Regions from separate parts of the Homo sapiens genome. Here regions 1 and 2 are each linked to region 3. Evidence: promoter capture Hi-C in 16 types of primary human blood cells and fetal thymus (Javierre and others, 2016). All regions are on one chromosome and are shown on one strand. The core of a region is centred on a gene start or on the middle of the fragment in contact, and the rest is flanking DNA. Distances in the headings are between cores, read along the strand shown.

Evidence for each region. Contacts are between HindIII fragments. The CHiCAGO score rates a contact against its expected background, and 5 or more counts as called.
Region 1: a fragment that was not itself captured here is called in contact with the fragment with the promoter of DVL1 in region 3 in 9 of 17 cell types (activated CD4 T cells, total CD4 T cells, fetal thymus and 6 more); the score reaches 9.9 in activated CD4 T cells.
Region 2: a contact is called between a fragment that was not itself captured here and the fragment with the promoter of DVL1 in region 3, in 4 of 17 cell types (M0 macrophages, non-activated CD4 T cells, naive CD4 T cells and 1 more). The highest score is 6.3, in M0 macrophages.

The regions. Positions count from the first base shown.
Region 1 is chr1:1,110,671-1,114,759 of GRCh38, forward strand. The region is part of intron 1 of C1orf159 (chromosome 1 open reading frame 159); the gene reads right to left. Among named protein-coding and RNA genes, the nearest start is that of C1orf159, 3.4 kb to the right of the region's middle. RefSeq lists enhancers at 1,119-1,620, 1,839-2,133. The HindIII fragment of the contact is 804 bases long and covers 2,198-3,001 here.
Region 2 is chr1:1,128,213-1,132,733 of GRCh38, forward strand. LOC124903820 (a long non-coding RNA gene) reads left to right here and starts at 472. Exons shown (of 3, transcript XR_007065351.1): 1 at 472-546. LOC124903819 (a long non-coding RNA gene) reads right to left here and starts at 772. Exons shown (of 2, transcript XR_007065349.1): 1 at 279-772. The HindIII fragment of the contact is 4,801 bases long and covers 653-4,521 here.
Region 3 is chr1:1,347,135-1,350,995 of GRCh38, forward strand. It overlaps DVL1 (dishevelled segment polarity protein 1), which reads right to left and starts at 2,284. Exons shown (of 15, transcript NM_001330311.2): 1 at 1,762-2,284. The coding sequence starts at 1,931. RefSeq lists enhancers at 1-616, 617-1,246 and silencers at 799-975, 2,136-2,315, 2,416-2,735, 2,756-2,905. The HindIII fragment of the contact is 21,682 bases long and covers 1,323-3,861 here.

The DNA.
Region 1 (4,089 bases), core at 1,350-3,849, 240 kb before region 3:
CGTTCCCAAGAGAAACAACACACGCCCGCCAAACACGTGCACAAAAATAGGCCCAACTCTTCAGACAGCGGAAACCCACCCGGGCGCCCTCAGAGACGACGAGCACGCAACAGCGCATCCCACACCCACTCCTTGTGCAGCACCTCAGAGGAAGCTCAACAACAGTTCTCTGCGTGAGCCGTGGCAGACGCAAAACCGCCCGCACGTGTGACTCCTAACACTCAGAGTGTCGGTAAAATCACAGCAGCGCTCCTGTCTGGCGCGGCAGGCGGGCGCTGGAGCAGCCTGCGAGGCAATCTCCATGGATCACAGGCAGATTCTACATCACGACAGGAGTCTGGTGAATCCTTTGTCAAAACAATTGAACTGGACACAAGCTCTGTGTGTTTCACTGCATGTAAATTATGCCTTAGTAACTAAACACATGCATTTTCTATTTTGAAAATCTCATTGGAGCCAAAAAGCTAAATAATGGGATGAAAATTTCTACAAGGCAATGAAAAATTTAGTGAGAATTTAAATTGTGCTATACACTCTTTGACCACTCTTATTTTCCCTTAGAAGAACTGGTTTCAGGGCAGGTGTGGAGGCTCAGGCCTGCAATCCCATCATTTTGGGAGGCCAAGGTGGGAGGATCGCTTGAGCCCAGGAGTTCAAAACCAGCCCGGACAACAGAGTGAGATCTCATCTCTACCAAAAAAAAAAAAAAAAAAAAATAGCTGGGCTTGGTGACGTATACTTGTGGTCCCAGCTATTTGGGAGGCTGAAGTGAAAGAATCTCTTGAGCCTGGGAGGTCAAGGCTACAGTGAGCCATGATCGCACCACTGCACTCTACCTGGGCGACAGAGCCAGACCCCGTCTCAACAACAACAACAAAGAACTGGTTTCAAGAAAAAAATGATGCCTCAGGTCACTGTGATTTTAAATAAGTAACATCTTGCAAAACAACCCTGTAAAAGCAACCACCGGCTGGGGCAGTGGGTAGACCACACCCACGCTCACCGTAACTCCAGCCGCCCAGGCAGCAGTAACTGAAAAGGGGAGGCGGGAGGGTCCACTGGCGGGTTTCTCACGCTGCTGAACCTCGGTAAACACAGCCCCGAGGGCTGGCTGGAGCTTCCACTGCATCCGTGTAGCTAATGCTGGTCATCTTCGTAGCAAGCAAAGGAAGCCAACGTGAAACGTAGCTTTAAGGGCCCAATAAGAACTGTCTGGGGCCTCTCTACCTAAAGATCCCTCTCGTGCTTTGATAGAAAACAAATACCGCAAACCCCTTGATGGGGTGTAAAGGAGACATCCCCCTTTGTTGACATGCATGGTAGTCGCTGCCCACCTACCCGTGGGCTCAGCACACCGGAGTCGGGCGGTTGCCGTAGGTGGCTCAGCAGACGTGAGCAGGGCAGGATCGGGCCCATCCCCCCACCGGGAATGTCAGGCCACCATCAGGTGATGGTCAGGTGGCTGTTAACTGTCTAAAAGAACTGGTTGCACCCAGCGCCAGGGAAAGACAGGCTCCCAATAGCTAGAAAACACATGAAATCCGGTGATGGGCAGCTTCCCGATACGATCTCAGGAACTGGGCGAGTTGGCTCAAGCGTGTGCACTGAGAGGCAAAATGGCGGCGTGTAACCGTTCTATGACCTTCTAGGGACGTTTGACAGGTAACGGAAGAACGCCTCAGGTGAGCATGGGCACTACTCCAGTGAACACACGGCGCACGGTCCCTCCCTCCAGTGAACACAACGCACACGCTCCCTCCCTCCAGTGAACACACAGCGCATGCTCCCTCCTTCCAGTGAACACACGGCACATGCTACCTCCCTCCAGTGAACACACGGCACATGCTCCCTCCCTCCAGTGAACACAACGCGCACGCTCCCTCCCTCCAGTGAACACACAGCGCATGCTCCCTCCCCCCAGTGAATACACGGGGCATGCTCCCTCCCTCCAGTGAACACACCGGGCATGCTCCCTCCCTCCAGGGAACACATGGCGCATGCTCCCGCCCAAGTACTAGCAAGATGCTGCATGGGTGGACAGCCCACCCTGAAGAAGGATCAGGGGAGAAGGGGTGCAAGACCCCAGAAGCCTGCCAGGCTATAAAACCCCAAGTCAAAAGGTGAAACCGCACACCTGATCTCTCACATCGCCCGTCTGGCCCTCCTCCAAGGGTACTTCCTTTCCTTCCTGCTCTAAAGCTTCTTCAACAACTTTCACTCCTGCTCTAAAACTTGCCTTAGTCGGTGGGGTGCGGTGGCTCACGCCTGTGATCCCAGCACTTTGGGAGGCTGAGGTGGGTGGATCATCTGAGGTTGGGAGTTCGAGACCAGCCTGACCAAAATGCAGAAACCCCTTCTCTACTAAAATACAAAAAATTAGCCGGTTGTGGTGGCAGGCACCTGTAGTCCCAGCTACTCGGGAGGCTGAGGCAGGAGAATGACATGAACCCGGGAGGCAGAGCTTGCAGTGAGCCGAGATTGTGCCACTGCACTCCAGCCTGGGCGACAGAGACAGACTCCATCTCAAAAAAAAAAAAAAAACTTGCCTCAGTCTCTCCTTCAGCCTCATGTCCTTCCATCAAATTCTTTCTTCTGAGGCAGCGAGAATCGAGGCCGCTGCTGACATACTTTGGTGCTGAAACTCAGATACATTCTGCCAGTAATAGAGCTCTGAAGGCTCACCTGAGCTCCACACTCCACCTCGGCACACGCAACCCTCAGCCAGAGTGGTGAGAAGAGGTGGCTCTTTCTTTTCTTTGTGAAACAGGCTGGAGTGCATCGTTGCGATCTCGGCTCACTGCAGTCTCCACCTCCGGGGCTGAAGCGATCCTCCTGCCTCAGTCCCTCGAGTAGCTGGGACTGTTAGTGGCAGAATATGTCCCACTTCTGACACCAAAGCATGTTAGCAGCAGTGAACCTCAATTTTTCCCTCCTCAGAAGAGTTTGATGGACGGGTAGGAGGCAGAAGAGACCTTAGAGCAGGAGCAACAGTTTATGAAGAAGCTTTAGAGCAGGAATGAAAGGAAGTAAAGCGCCCTTGGAAGAAGGCCAGGCAGGAGACCTGAGAGATCAAGTGCGCAGTTTGACCTTTGACTTAGGGTCTTCCACGCTGGAGGCTTCCGGGGTGTTACGTCTCCCGATTCTTCCCTCGGGGTGGGCCGTCCACCCGCACAGCGGCTGCGGGCACTTGGGAGGGAGCATGCACAGAGTTTACTGGAGTTGTGCGCACGCTCCCTCGAGGCCTTTTTTTTTTTTTTTTTTTTTGAGATGGAGTCTCGCTCTGTCACCCAGGCTGCAGTGCAGTGGCGCAATCTCGGCTCACTGCAACCTCCGCCTCCCGAGTTCAAGCGATTCTCCTGCCTCAGCCTCCTGAGTAGCTGGGACCACAGGCGCCCGCCACCATGCCCGGCTAATTTTTGTATTTTTATCAGAGACGGGGTTTCACCATATTCGCCAGGCTGATCTCAAACTCCTGGCCTTCTGATCCGCCCCCCTCCCCCCACGGCCTTGCAAAGTGCTGGGATTACAGGTGTGAGCCACCGCGCACAGCCAGGGCCGCCTTCTCTTACCAGCCAAATGTCCCTGGTAGAGGGGGGCCCCTCTTCTGCCCTGCTCATGTCTGACTAGCTACCTACTGTAACGGGCCACAGGTGCTTGCCCCCATGCCTGGATAATATTTTTTATTTTTTATAGAGACGAGGTCTCCCTATGTTGCCCAGACTGGTCTCAAGCGATCTCCCACCCCAGCACCCACAGCGCTAGCTGTTCTTTAAATGAGCTACCCAGTAAGTCAAAGCTCAGGTGGAGAGCAGCCGCAAGGCAGGGAGCAGCTGGGAGGTATCTCAGGGGTTCCCGGGATGCTGCCTGTGCACCCCAGGGCTGAGGTGACTGCGTGTGGAAACACCTGCCTGACTGGCTTTTAGGAGGAGTACTGGGGGCGGGATGTGTGTCAGGAAAACAACGTTTCTGTATAATTCATAAACATGTATGTTAAAAACAACGTGGCCATGACGGATCCTGGCTGAATGCAAACGGGGAACATAAACCTGAGTAATCAGGCGCATCACTGAACATCCCAGGCGGCCGCCC
Region 2 (4,521 bases), core at 1,803-4,302, 220 kb before region 3:
GGAGAGGGGAGCCGTCCCGGAGCCGCTCTGCACCCAGAGAGGTGTGAGGTGCAGCCTTTCCCCCCTGCCAGGAAGCGCAAACCCTGCTTTAGACCCCAGGGAGTTGGTGCCCCCCCCAGATGCCCGCGGCTTCTCCCACATGGGGAGCTGTCCATCTGTGAGGTCAGACCTGGGCTGCGGGCTTGGCCACCGCTGGATGCCAGCCAGACCTGCCCCTCTGACTTTTCTTGCTCTTTTCTCTCTGCTTTTCCGAGGCCGGCTTTCCGCGAGGCACTTACTTGAAAATGGAGCCCCGGCATTCCTGCATGCACGGACACTAAATCCAAGGCCAGCTCCTCTCTCAGAGCAGAAGTTAAAAATTATTCAATGCCAAATTCCTGGGCTGTGGAGCAGTAGTGGTTGTACCAGGCAAAGGTTCCCGCCGCCTTCCGCCGGCCGGGCAGAGATAAGACCATGAGGGCGCCCGGGGGAGTCCGCGCCTGGCCCACACTGCCCTCCGCCGTCCTGGGACCAGGCCCACACCGCCCTCCGCCCTCCCAGGACCAGGTAGGACTGAGGCTCTGTGGGTCTGACCCACAGCGTCTGGGAGGTTTTGTCTCAAGGGCTGGTGGCTTCTGATGAGCCGAAAGCCCCCGCACCCACGGCCCCACAAAGCTTTTCTTCCGGGACCAGCCCCTCCCCAGTCGCCTGGCCAAGGCCCAGCCCTTAGGGGCCTCCATGGTGTGCTGGGGAGGACCTGGGGGTCCCGCTGGTGAGCCCAGGGCACAGTTGTGGCAGGCGGAGCCCGCGGGGAGGGCAAGGCCTCAGAAGAGGAGGGATTCAGCCGGAGGGCCTTCCCCAGGGCTGGCGGCTTCTGCTATTGGCTGGGGGGTGGTGAGGGTCAGCTGGGGCCTGCAGGGCTGTGCTGGCCAGGTGGGCCGGGCCTGGGGTCCCACAGCCTGAGCGGAGATGCCTGGAGGGGGCCACAGGGTGACCATGTGCCCCCCGGGAGAAGCTGGGGTCTTGGGTCCCCGTGATGATTATGGGTGTCTGGGGGTTCCTGTAGGAAAAGATGGCTGCGAAGGCCCCAGAGTTCCTCGGGGCCTGTGAATGACCCAGCCAGGGGGCCCTCAGAGGGGGAGAGAGACTGAGAAGCCATGATTTACATTTCCTGGCAGAGAGCTCTTGCAGGGAAACCAAATTTATTCCAGTTGACAAGGTGCGTGGGCATTGGGAACAACGTGGGTGGGGGCACAGCCTCCTCTGTCCCGGCCGAAATCCAGTCCTGCAGAGATTTGGAGCACAGAGCATCAGGGCCGCCTGTGAGGCACAGAGCGAATGGGGCACCAGCCTGCCCTCGGCCTCAGACACGGAGAGGCTCCCACGGCACTGAGCCACGCATGGCCACGCGACAGAGGGACAGAATGCCGTGGCCGTGTAGGGGAGCTGCACTCTGCGTGGCCCTGGGATGGGAAAATCCAGGGAAACAGACACTGTTATGGATGTGAGCATCGGCTGCCAGAACGAGAGGAAGCAGAAGAGGGGAAAAGGCCGATTATCGTAGAAGAGTTAGGAAAATCAATCAAAGATACCCCCTTGAGAACAGTTAAGTTCACAGCTGTGAGTTCTGGAAACCTTTATGTTTTAAAAATGATTCCGAGGACTCAGAGGGTAAAGCTCGCACCAACTTAATTTGTTATTGCCTTTTCTATCAAAGTTATGCTTGTGGCCGGACACAGTGGTTCGCATTTGGGAGGTCAAGGCGGGCGGATCACTTGAGGTCAGGAGTTCGAGACAAGCGTGGTCAGCATGATGAAACCCTGTCTCTACTAAAAATACAAAAAAATTAGCTGGATGTGGTGGCGGGCACCTATAATTCCAGCTACTCTGGAGGCTGAGGCAGGACAATCGCTTGCACCTGGAAGGCGGAGGTTGCAGTGAGCTCAGATGGCACCATTGCCCTCCAGCCTGGGCAACAGAGTGAGACTCTGTCTCAAAAAAAAAAAAAAAAAAAAAAAAAAAAAACCAGTTATGCCTGTAGGTTGCTTGAGAGTCAAACACTTCTGCAAGGCTTGGACACATATGATCTTCAGGCCGCGCCGAGGCCACCAGCTCCGTGTGCTGGGAGGCTCCTGTGTTTACTTCCAACGTCACTGGCAAACGGCAGCTTCTCAGCACTCCAGCTTCAGGGTCAGCCCTGAATCTGCCCTGTGGAAGGGGCTGTTTGCCGCCCTCCCACCTCTCGTCCCGCCGTCACGCGCCGCGCCTGGTCTCTGCTGTCACTCTGCTGGGCGCCGGGGACTAGCTTGGTGCCAGGTCCACCGTGGCCGCCTGTTCTCACCCGAACTCTGAGCTGTTTCCCTGAAGTTAATAATCGCCTTTGCTTTTCTTCTTGCTTAGCTTTCTCTGAACTCATTACTAATTCAGCCTCAGACTCTCCCCCATGACTTAAATTCCGGCACGCCAGGTATTTCTGAGGGGCCTCCGGGAGCCTCCTGCCCTGCCCGGGGCTGGTCGGCTCCCTCGGGCCTGGGGCAGGGCTGGCGTCTTGCAGGCTTCGTGGTCCGTGTCACAAAGGTCCCATTGCTTCTCCCCTGGGTGGGATTTTCCCGGGCCCCACACCTCCCCTTTCTTGTCTTCTCAGTGTTTTGGTGGAACAAGCCCCTCGCAGCTCCCCGTGAGGTGCAGGGGGTGGGCCCCCACCACGCCCACAGCTGCAGCTGCCTGTGAAGGGCACAGGGCGGGCCCCCACCAAGGCCTTCGCTTCCCTGCGAGTTGAGAAAACCTCGCCGCAGGGTCCCCGGCTCCCGAGGCTGCTGTGGGTCCGGCAATGGCATCCCAACCCCGGGGCCTTGGTATGGAACCTGTTTCTGCGGGTTTTTTCCTGAAAGTTTTTGGGGCCTTCTTTTTGTCTCCATCTCTGCTGTCCTGTGAAGGTGGATCTTTGTGTGGTTCCGTTTTCATCCCTTTCACGGGGTCCTCAGTGGCTCTTTCTGTCTGGAAATGCCTGAGCTTCGGCTCCAGGAAATGTTCTTGAATTACAATTTTTAAATGATTTTGTTCTTTATCTTTTCTTTTTGTTGTTGCTCTCTCTTTCTCTGGTGAATATTGCTGCAATTTGGAGCAGGTCCTCTAATCACCTTTTCTATCCCATTTTCTTTGCCTTTTCACGTCACGTTCGGGGAACGTCCTGGCTCCGTCCCTTCCAGCGCTTTTCGTTTCTGTCCTCGGAGTCATTCTTTTTAAGACGGAGTCTCGCTCTGTCGCCCAGGCTGGAGTGCAGTGATGTGATCTCGGCTCACTGCAAGCTCCGCCTCCTGGTTCACGCCATTCTCCTGCCTCAGCCTCCCGAGTAGCTGGGACTACAGGTGCCCACCACCATGCCTGGCTAATTTTTTGTATTTTTAGTAGAGACGGGGTTTCACCGTGTCGGCCAGGATGGTCTCGATCTCCTGACCTCATGATCCGCCCGCCTCGGCCTCCCATAGTGCTGGGATGACAGGCGTGAGCCGCCACGCCCGGCCCCTCGGAGTCGTTCTTTCTGTTGCATCCTCATGGTTTTCTGTGGCCACGTGCTTTCGCTCATCTCTTCGAGGACGTTCCTGATAGTTTGTGCCTCTTCTTTTCAAGGCTTCTTCTCCTTGCACAAGACGGTCTGGAGAAAAACCCGCATTTCCTTCCGTCACACTGACCACATTTAACTTAAAATGGGAAGAGAGCAAAACATTCCACAGGCAAAGTCAGGGGACTATTTTAATGACAGAGACACATGGTTGAAATCAATGCTGCACTCTGAGCCCTTAGAAACCGTCGCAAAGGACTCCACGGAAGGGTGGGGGCAGCCCCAGCGAGGTCGTCAGGGAGCAGAGCCCGAGTCATGGGACACAAGGCCGGACCCCTCACCGCCAGGGAAGCGGAGTCACAGGCACGTGGCCCTCTGCGCCCAGGGTCAGGGCACGGGAGGCAGAGCCTGAGACGGGGGTGCCCATGCAGGGTGTGCTGGGGGTGGGGTTGTGGGGCCTCTCAGGGGCAAGGGGCAGGACCGGACAGCAGAGAGATCCCACTCCTGCCTGAGACCCGCCGCCATCGCCGCCGCGAGCCCTGCGTTGGGCATTGGGGCCAGGCACCTGCCAGGAGGGCCTCTTCCGAGGTGGGGTGTCACCTGGGATGTGTCCGCTGGCAAATGGGAGAAACACCAGGGCGGCTGCCGGGGAGGTCGATGTCAGGGAGCCCGTAGCCCTGAGCCCATGTGTGGAGGAAGCCCTTTGTCTGAGGAGCCTGCGGCCGCCTTGGACCCTGGATGCTTGCAGGGAATCTACACAGGGTTGTCAGGTACGACAAGGGTGCCCAGGGCTGAGGAGGGTGCCCATGCGGCCTCCTACAATGCGTATGGGAAGCCGGTGAACGCCCTCCCTCAGGGCTGGCCGGGTGCGTCTGGGGTTGTCCTAGCTCCAGCTGCTGGAACAAAATACCGAGCCTGGGGACTTAAGCAACAGAAATGTATTTTCTCACAGCCTCGGAGGGGGAGGGGAAGGTCCGGTG
Region 3 (3,861 bases), core at 1,034-3,533:
GCCCTCGTCTTGGACCTCCAGCATCACCCCAGTCCATTCTTTCCAACCCCCACAGCCCAGCCCAGCCCAGCCCTGACCTCTGCAGCCCCACTGACTCCCAGCCCCCTGTAAGTCTGCAGCCTCCAAAGCTGTACACTGAAGCTCCCCTGTCTCTTTCCTGGCCGCATCCCCAAGCCTGCCTCGACACCCAGACCTGCCCACCCTGTTCCCAGGCCCGGGCACCCACGCGTCCTCCAAATGTGCCCAGCAGGTGCAGCCACTGCTAGAAGTGCACTAGGGCAACAGTCAGGCTGTCTCTGCCCTGGGCAGCCCCCGGTGGGTGTCAGGAGCAGAAGGCGGACTCCCCCAGGGCTTCATCCCAGAGCATGGTCCAGGAGCAGAACCTGGGGGCTGGGCACCTCCTCACTACGCATTTCCTGGTGGCACACATTTGCAACAAACAGCATTAGTAACTTTGGTAACTTTCGTTAGAATAATAAACTAAGTCAAAAACAAAAGTACCTGACACATGCCCCATGCTCAAGGCCAAAGCAGCCCAGGCCCAGAGAAGCAGGGACTGCAAGGTGCCCCAGCTGGGGAGGAGCCCGGACCAGACTCAGAAAACAAACCGCCCCCTCCTGCCCAACCTGACCGGAGCGGGCAGGAGGGCCGCTGAGCCGAGTGGGGAGCGCCCAGCCTTCAAAGGCTGCCAAGGACGCACCCTGCCCTCTCTGCTTTGCCTGGTCGTGGGGGTGGGGAAGGAAAGTACAGCTGTCTAGATGTCCCTTGGGCCCCCCTGAGAGCTCCAGAGCGGACCCAGCCTGACTGGACCTGGGGCTGCCTGAGGACCCTGCAACCACAGAATCCAAGAAACAACCTTAATGTCACAATCCCAAGAAGCGGCCACACACAAGGACACCGCTTGCCGGAGGCTCACCTCCTGGGGCCACGAGGCCTGAGCCCGCCCCCAGCACTGTTGAGCTGGGACTAGGGACTCAGGTTACTGGTGGCTGGGCCGGGCCAGGCCAGGCCTCAAGCAGACCGCCAGGCTCCTGCTCCCTGTCCCAGAGGGCCCAGCTCAGCACAGCAGGGGTCTCCTCGCCTGGGACACCACCACCGAGGCCCAGCAGGGAGACGCTGACCCAGGCTGCCCCGAAACAGCAGATGGTCTGGGCTGCTCCGGGAACGCAAGTGCTTTGTGGCTCAGTGGGGACGGGGCCCACAGGAAGCTCAGGACACGGGTAGGCGAATAAAGTTTCATGGTCACCAGTGGCCCTTGACCTCCACCCTGTCACAAGGACCCTGCAGAAGGGGGCCAGGAGAACCTGTCTTGACCCTCGGGAAGCTTCTGCAAACCCTAGCAGACAGGTTGGTGAACCTGTACCCCCATGTCTCCCCATCCCAGCTAGGGAACCCCACCCTGCTTCCTTCCCACTGACACGCCCCTGACCCCAGCCCGCACCAACGGCAGGCGCTCCCGGCCAGCCCCGGTGGAAGCGATGCGGCCGACCGAGTCTGACACGGGCCAAGGCAGGACTCGGGGCCGGGAAGCTGGGGCCAGGGACGCCGGGAACCCCGCCTGCCATCGCCCCGCTCCACGGACAGGTGGGCGCGCGCCGCACACGGGCCGAGGCCGCCACCCGCGCCGCATCTAGCGGAGGCGCGTCGCGGTCGCAGGTCCCCGGGGGCGCGAACGGCTCAGGACCCCCGCCCCGTCCCCGCGCGGGCAGGTGCGACCCCCGAGCCCGCGCCAGGCTCGCGCAGGCCTCGCGGCCGACTGACCCGAAGTCCTGGTCCATGGACTTAAAGAAGAATTTGTAGGCGTGCACGGGCCGGTTGCTGAGCACGTTCTTGAAGTCGGCCAGCGTGACGCGCTCGGGGGCCACGGGCAGCTTGACCAGGTACGGCGTCTCCTCCTCGTCCATGTGGTAGATAATCTTGGTCTCCGCCATGGCGCGGCGGCGGCGCGGAGCCCGCGCGCTCAGGGCCCGGCCCGGGGCTCGGACGCGGGGCGCTACCCGCCCGCCCGCCTGCGCCCCGCCCGGCCCGCACCGCTCTCGGCCCCGACGCTCCGAGGCCCCCGGGCGCCCCCGCCCGACCGCCCAGGCCCCGGCCGCCGCCCCCGGCTCCCGCGCGCGTCCCGACTGCTGCCCCGCGGCCCGCGGCCGCCCATCCGCCCCCGGCCCGGGAGCGGCGCGAGGGACGCAGCACGGAGGGCGCGCTCAGCCCCGCCGCCCTCCCGCCTGCGCCCCTCGGGCCGCGCCGTTAAAGGGACCGCCCGGCCCGGGGTCCTGAGCGTGGCCGCGGGGGGGCGCCCGAGCGCGCGGCGTTGACGTCACGGGGGCGCACGGCGGGGGCGGGGCGAGGATGCGCAGACGCAGGCGATCATCGCTCGCCCCGCCCCGCCCCGGCCCCGCCCCCGCGCGCGGGCCCGCGCTCCATTATGATCCGGCGCATGCGACGCGCGCCGCTGGCTGTGGGCCCGTGGGCGCCGGGGCGCTCGGGTCGGGCGGAGGGACCCCGGGGACGCCGGGTGCGCGGCGCTGAGGTGGCGCCCGGTCGCTCTGCGCCACCGCGAAGGCTCCCGACTCGCGTGCCCTCTGCCGGGTCCCACGGGGTCCAGGCAGCAGGCCGAGCGGATGCGGGGCGCGCGGGGGCGCGGGCGTGCACGGAGGCGTCGGAGCGCCCGGCGGCGGGAGGGATTTAGTCCTGGGGTTCTCCGCAGGGCAGGGGAGACTTCCGAGGCGTCCCTTGAGGCCGCGGGGCGTCCGCGCTTACTGTTCCGGGGCTCGCGGGGCTGGAGGCCTTCCCGACCCGACCCCAGCAGGAAGCGCGGAGGCCACTAGAGGGCGGCCCAGGATGGGAGGAGTGAGGAGGGGGCCTGGACGGGGCAGGAGCGACGGGGGGAGTGAGGAGGGGGCCTGGACGGGGCAGGAGCGACGGGGGGAGTGAGGAGGGGGCCTGGACGGGGCAGGAGCGACGGGGGGAGTGAGGAGGGGGCCTGGACGGGGCAGGAGCGACGGGGGGAGTGAGGAGGGGGCCTGGACGGGGCAGGAGCGACGGGGGGAGTGAGGAGGGGGCCTGGACGGGGCAGGAGCGACGGGGGGAGTGAGGAGGGGGCCTGGACGGGGCAGGAGCGACGGGGGGAGTGAGGAGGGGGCCTGGACGGGGCAGGAGCGACGGGGGGAGTGAGGAGGGGGCCTGGACGGGGCAGGAGCGACGGGGGGAGTGAGGAGGGGGCCTGGACGGGGCTGGAGCGACGGGGGGAGTGAGGAGGGGGCCTGGACCGGGCAGGAGCGACGGGGGGAGTGAGGAGGGGGCCTGGACCGGGCAGGAGCGACGGGGGGAGTGAGGAGGGGGCCTGGACGGGGCAGGAGCGACGGGGGGAGTGAGGAGGGGGCCTGGACGGGGCAGGAGCGACGGGGGGAGTGAGGAGGGGGCCTGGACGGGGCAGGAGCGACGGGGGGAGTGAGGAGGGGGCCTGGACGGGGCAGGAGCGACGGGGGGAGTGAGGAGGGGGCCTGGACGGGGCAGGAGCGACGGGGGGAGTGAGGAGGGGGCCTGGACGGGGCAGGAGCGACGGGGGGAGTGAGGAGGGGGCCTGGACGGGGCAGGAGCGACGGGGGGAGTGAGGAGGGGGCCTGGACGGGGCAGGAGCGACGGGGGGAGTGAGGAGGGGGCCTGGACCGGGCAGGAGCGACGGGGGGAGTGAGGAGGGGGCCTGGACGGGGCAGGAGCGACGGGGGGAGTGAGGAGGGGGCCTGGACGGGGCAGGAGCGACGGGGGGAGTGAGGAGGGGGCCTGGACGGGGCAGGAGCGACGGGGGGAGTGAGGAGGGGGCCTGGACGGGGCAGGAGCGACGGGGGGAGTGAGGAGGGGGCC